Regions from separate parts of the Homo sapiens genome. Here region 2 is linked to region 1. Evidence: promoter capture Hi-C in 16 types of primary human blood cells and fetal thymus (Javierre and others, 2016). All regions are on one chromosome and are shown on one strand. Each heading gives the region's core, a stretch centred on a gene start or on the middle of the fragment in contact. The rest is flanking DNA. Distances are from core to core; before and after follow the strand shown.

The links. Contacts are between HindIII fragments. The CHiCAGO score rates a contact against its expected background, and 5 or more counts as called.
Region 2: a contact is called between a fragment that was not itself captured here and the fragment with the promoter of METTL4 in region 1, in 9 of 17 cell types (naive CD8 T cells, total CD8 T cells, naive CD4 T cells and 6 more). The highest score is 14.8, in naive CD8 T cells.

The regions. Positions count from the first base shown.
Region 1 is chr18:2,569,859-2,572,791 of GRCh38, forward strand. METTL4 (methyltransferase 4, N6-adenosine) reads right to left here and starts at 1,647. Exons shown (of 9, transcript NM_022840.5): 1 at 1,291-1,647. NDC80 (NDC80 kinetochore complex component) reads left to right here and starts at 1,699. Exons shown (of 17, transcript NM_006101.3): 1 at 1,699-1,825. RefSeq lists enhancers at 740-1,662, 1,545-1,704. The HindIII fragment of the contact is 2,186 bases long and covers 1,401-2,933 here.
Region 2 is chr18:2,674,997-2,678,195 of GRCh38, forward strand. The region is part of intron 5 of SMCHD1 (structural maintenance of chromosomes flexible hinge domain containing 1); the gene reads left to right. Among named protein-coding and RNA genes, the nearest start is that of SMCHD1, 21 kb to the left of the region's middle. The HindIII fragment of the contact is 8,128 bases long and covers 1-3,199 here.

The DNA.
Region 1 (2,933 bases), core at 397-2,896:
AGGTAAGGTTGGAAGAACATTTATTCACTCTCCACCAGCCTAGGAAATTAATAGTGGGTCCTCAGCCCTGCCACCTTCTGCTGTTATCATCAGCCTTTTAACTCAGGTTTTGATATGGTGAAAAGAGTCACCAGGGTTATTCAGACACCCCGGCTGTCAGGGTCCTTGGTGGTTAAACCTGGGAAAAGGCCACATGAAGACAACTGTAAGCACACATGATCCCTCTGAATTGTTTTCTTTTCCTGCAATTGTGCTTGCTCTTAAAAATTGAAGTTTTAAACAGGGCTCACATGTGATCATCCTTCCATCTATTGGAGTCTAGCTTGAAATGTGACAACCGGAACCAAAAGAACCTTGAATTTGGTGCCTACTTTGGTTTTGGTGCTGCTGCTTCTCAAGATCCTCAGCAGGGATTAAGAAGTTGGGGTGCACAGCAGGAATATCAGGAAATTGGCAGGCTTGACTTCCTGGCAAATTGCTAGCAGGACCACTAAATGCTGAACTGTACTGTGAATGTATACCGAAATACAAGCAATTATTTCTGTACTAAAGGTGTTTTTAATTTTGTATTTGTGTAAAACCACCTTTGGAAGCAGCAACTATCTAGTCAGAAAAGCAAATGATGTTTCCATTAATCTTTTCTGGGGAAAACATTAGTGCTAAGGATTTAACAATCTGTAGGTAAAGTTTAACCTAACAGTATTCCACAAGGAGACTTTTTATTATCAGACGGTTGCCTAATTTTCATATAATTTTTATATTAATATAATCCTTGGTTCCTCCCCATCCCCTTCATAGGCCACAGCTGAGGTGAAAAGGGTCCTGGAATGGCTAGTGAGAGCTAGAAATTCAGACGGGAAAATTGAAACTCAGAGCAGAAAGGCAAGCTGCCCAAAAATAACAACGCTAGTTAATGGCACAATTGCTACCAGACCCAAGTATCCAGACTTCCTGGAGCTGTGAGATCTTTCATCACCACCACTCTCCAGGTACCGGGCAGTGCCTGTTTCTGGATTCAAACTCACAGCAGCGAGGAAATCCTATTTTAGCAAAGTGATCTACTGTTACTGTTGTTAGTGCACCCCTCTCCTGCGTCTCTGCTTCACATCCACTCCCTCGCCGCCCGCCCCCAAACACTTGGATTCTTCCTAGCCTCTCACAGGTCAGCCACCACCAGAGGACCGTGAGCCTCCGGCAAGTGATCAAATACTGAGCCCGAATTTCGGCAGCCGTACCAACGCAATCCTGGGAGCCCATTCCACCCACTCCGCAGCCCCTCTCCCACCTCACCTCTTCCCTTGTCAGAAAAGCGGACGCCGCCTTCCCAGACTCTCCTCATGAAAACAGCACCCATCTAAATAGTGATCATGAAAAATGCCCCTTCCAGTCCACAGAGAAAAAGCTTTCTCCTTTTCTAAGAGTCCATGGGCGCCGCCATGTTGCTGTACGGAAAAACGTTTCCAGGGCGAGTTGAGCGTTCAGGGCACTCCTCGGCGCTCAAGCTGCCCACAGGTCTTCCGACCTAACTTTAGGGGTCGTGCCAGTCTTCGTAGAGACGGCCACACTGGCCCACAGACCCCAGTTCCTGGGGTGACGCAGCTGGGCGCGACCAGCACGCAGCCTTCCAGCGACGAGGCGGTCGCATGGAAGTTACTGCGCGCGTCGTGCGTAATGACGTCAGCGCCGGCGGAGAATTTCAAATTCGAACGGCTTTGGCGGGCCGAGGAAGGACCTGGTGTTTTGATGACCGCTGTCCTGTCTAGCAGATACTTGCACGGTTTACAGAAATTCGGTCCCTGGGTCGTGTCAGGAAACTGGAAAAAAGGTGACTGAATGACATCGGATTAACTTTGTTTCTGCAGAGCTGTTCTGGAGGAAGAAAGTGATGGCGCCAATGACTTAAATTTAGAGGTCCTGAGGCGATGTTTTGGTGTTTGTTTGCTGTTGGGAGAAGCCTCGAGGCCAAAACTGTGCGAGGCGCTGGTTTCACGGGATCTATTAAATTTCTAGTGGCAACGATTTCCCAAGGAGGAAAGGGGAGGGCCTGGGGGACACTGATGAGGAGTGGAGGCTCGGGAGAGGAAACGGGGAAGAATTGAAGGGGGCGGAAAGAGATGGACAAGAGAGGACTCGTTGGGTGGGTTGCGTCTGAATACTAGTGTAGCTTCTTATGGCCGTGTAGGACTGCGTGTAGAAGTCTTCATCTTAAATCATGAGAGCTACATTCTAAGTGGAGATTAAACGTGGACACACAGGTGTGAGTGGAAAAGTTGAATAGATGAACAAGCGCATATTGAAGAGGAAATAGGCGGCCAAAATCAAGAAGAGTCTAATCAGTGTAAAAGACTAAGGAGTACCCAGAGAAGTAAAAGGATTGTCACCTTCCTGAAAGCCAGGGCAGGACCTGAGAAGGCTGGGTGCAGAGATGAGACAGGATCAAAAGTTTTGTCAATCATGTGTATCCTAGGAGACAAATTTTTTAGCAGATGTGAAGGGAGTGACCTGTTAATGTGGTTTGTAAATGGAGGCAGCCTATAGACCATTTTATGGACCGGATGATTTATCCTTGTTGAAGGGGAGATTGATGCCAAAAGGGCAGTAATTGAGGAAACAATGGGTTAAGGACAGAGCAGGAGAGATTGACATTAGGAAAACAGAATAATTCCATTCTCTGAAACCAAAGAAAAGGAAACATTTTGAGGTGAATAAGAGAATTTGAGGTAATTTTTTTGTCTTCCTATTGAAATAGGCACAGCCAACAGCAGTAATGTGGTCTGGGTAACAGACAGGGCTTTAGCTACCACGGATACCCTTGTGAAGGCAAAAACCGTAACTTACTCGTCTTTGCATCTCCTGCATTGCCTAGCACACTCCCCTATATATATAGTGGGCAGTTAATAAATGTTTATGTTGAATATTTTTAAATGGAATTA
Region 2 (3,199 bases), core at 385-2,884, 110 kb after region 1:
CAGACTCTTGTATCATTTGAACCTGGTTTGGATTCTAGCCTTGCCACTTACTAATCGTGTGACATTGGTCAACTTACTTTACTTCTCTGTGCCTCAGCTTACATAGCCATAAAATGGGGATAATATCCCATGAGGTTTTATGACAACTAAGTGAGTTAGTACATGTAAAATCCTTAGGACAGAGCCTCGCATATGGTAAACAGTCAATAAATATAAGCTATAGAAGCTGTCATTTTAGTTATTACTTCTCATTCCTGACCTCAGCCTTTTTTTTTTTTTTTTTTTGGAGACAGAGTCTCGCTCTGTCATCCAGGCTGAAGTGCAGTTGTGCAATCTCGGCTCACTGCAACCTCTGCCTCCCAGGTTCAAACGATTCTTCTGCCTCAGCCTCCCGAGTAGCTGCGACTACAGGCACCCACCACCATGCCTGGCTATTTTTTGTATGTTTAGTAGAGATGGGGTTTCACCATGTTGGCCAGTCTGGTCTCGAACTCCTGACCTGGTGATCCGCCCTCCTCAGCCTCCCATAGTGCTAGGATTACAGGCGTGAGCCACTGCACCTGGCCTAGATTTCTCCACAACCATTCTATTTCACCATTTTCATAAATATGTGGCATTTAAAGGATTTATAAAAAGCCAGGGAGAAGGCAAAGACCACTGTCTTTGATAGTGTGAGGATAGGATTTAGCATATCACAGAAGTATTAGGTGGAAGGGAAGGTAGAACAGATGGTAGATTAGGCAAAATGGTCAGAAAAACATCAGTTATATCAACTGGAAGAGTAGAAAGAAATGCAAATCTTAACTGAATTCATGGGACATTGACTCTGATTTCTCTCTAGTTCTTAGAACAAAACAAACTTTTAAACTTAACCAAATATTAGGGAAATTGTAATTTCTGGCAAAAATCTTTTTGCTGCTGGTTTTAGTCTTAGCTTTATGGGTTTGGTGTCAGTAAACAATCAGTTGTTATTATAGCTGTTAGGTACTCGTACTGTCTTTTAAGTCCATTATCAGTTCCTTGACCCACTCTAATTTCTATCAATATCAGATACACCCCTTCAGCCTCTAGCTTCTGCTCAGTTGCTTTACTCCTTCCATTTGTTTTTTTCTGGATACAAGGATGGATGTCATAGAAGACAGGCTGTAGAAGAAAGGCAAGAACAGGCTAAAAGTACTAAACAACTAACAGTCTTGACCTGTAGCTTATGTTGTATTGGAGAGAGAAACAGAAGTAAATACAAAAAATTACATGTAAAAGCATTTCAGTTATTATTACTATGAATAAAATGTAAGAGTAATGTTGAAGGAATGGATTGCTAGAAAAAAAATGTAGAATAATAGAGCTGATGCACATCTCCTCTAGATAAGGTGGTTGGAGAAGAGGGCCTCTTTGAGATTATATTTGAGTTGAGGCTTGAATGATCAGAAGAAAGTAGCCAAATAAAGATCTGTGAGAAGTGTGTTTCAGGTAGAAGAAGCACCAGCAAAGCAAAGACTGAAATTGTGACAGTCTCATTTTGTTTGAAGGACAGAAAGGAGACTATTGTGACTGTAGCATAGTAGATAGAGGGGAGAGTAGAGGGAGATGTGAGAATTTCAGTTTGGAAATATTATTTGTAACTCTCATTTACCTGGGTACTACTCCCTCACCCCACCCTTTTTATTTTGAAACGTTTCAAGCCAATAGACAAGATGAAAGAACTAGCACCCATATATCCTTCACCTAGATTTATCAGTTGTTAACATTTTGTCACATTTATGATCTGTCTACACACTTACACACACACACTTTGCTTTTCTGAATCATTTGAAAGTACACTGCTGTCAGTTTGTGAGATTTCACTCCCAAATACTGTAGCATGTGTATTCTGAGGACAAGCGGATTCTCATAAATAACTACAAAATCATTATTACATCTAAGAAATTTATCATTAATGCAACAATATTTAACATAAGATTTTCATAAGTTTTTTTCCTGTTGTCATGTTCGATCTCCTTCATTCTATGATAGTTTCCCTAGCTTTTGTGTTTTTCATAATATTTCAATTTTTCTGTAGTGTTCAGGCTAGTTTTCTTGTAGAATGGTCCACAACCTGGATCTGAGTGTTTCCTCAGCATTGTTTTTTTTCCTTTAGTATTTTATTATGAACATTTAAAAACATACAGAAAAGTTGAAATTCTACAGGGAATACCCATATACTCACACCTAGGTTTTACCGTTGATAGTTGCTTTACTCCTTATATATCTGTCCCACCATTAGTTTATCTGGTTTTTTAATACAGTTCAAAACAAGTTATAAATGTCAGTATACTTTTTCCTAGTTTTGAAAGTATCCGTATTAATTTCTAGGGTTCAATATTTTTAATCTTGAGGTAAAATTCACATATTATACAGTTAATTGCTTGTATCTGTCTTAAATGTATCTTCATTGAATTTATCTTTTATGGAGATAAAATTTACGTATCATAAAATTCACAGTATTAAAGCATACTGTTCAGTAGTTTGAGTTAAAATTGTGCAACCATCACCACTAATTCCAGAATATTTTTACAACTCCAAAAGAAACACTGTACTAAGTGGTTGTCACTTTCTATCTCCTGGCAATCACTAATATCCTTTTAATAGTTTTGTTTTGTTTTGTTTTTTGAGACAAATCTCGCTCTGTCGTTCAGGCTGGAGTGTAGTGGTGCTATCTTGGCTCACTGCAACCTCTGCCTCTTGGGCTCAAGTGATCCTCCCACTTTAGCCTTCCAAGTAGCTGGGACCACAGGTGCATGTCACCACACCTGGCTAATTTTTTATAGAGGTGGAGTCTCACTATGTTGCCCAGGCTGGTCTCCAACTCCTGAGCTGAAGCGATCCACCTGCCTCAGCCTCCCAAAGTGCTGGGATTACAGAAGTGAGCCACCGCATCTGGCCAATAGTTGTTAATCTACATTTTTAGTTGTTTTTCTAGGGATTACAACCAGCATCTTAATTGATAACAATCCAGTCTGGATTAATACCAACGACATACTCTGTAGTATACAAAAACCGCTCCTACTTAGCTTTGTTCTCCTCCCACTTTCGTGTACTATCATTTTCGTATAAATGTGATCGTTATACATTATAGCCCTGTTACTAGAGTTTTATATTTACCATTTTATGCCTTGATCTTTTGAATCAGATAGAAGATTTACAAAGAATGCATTTATAC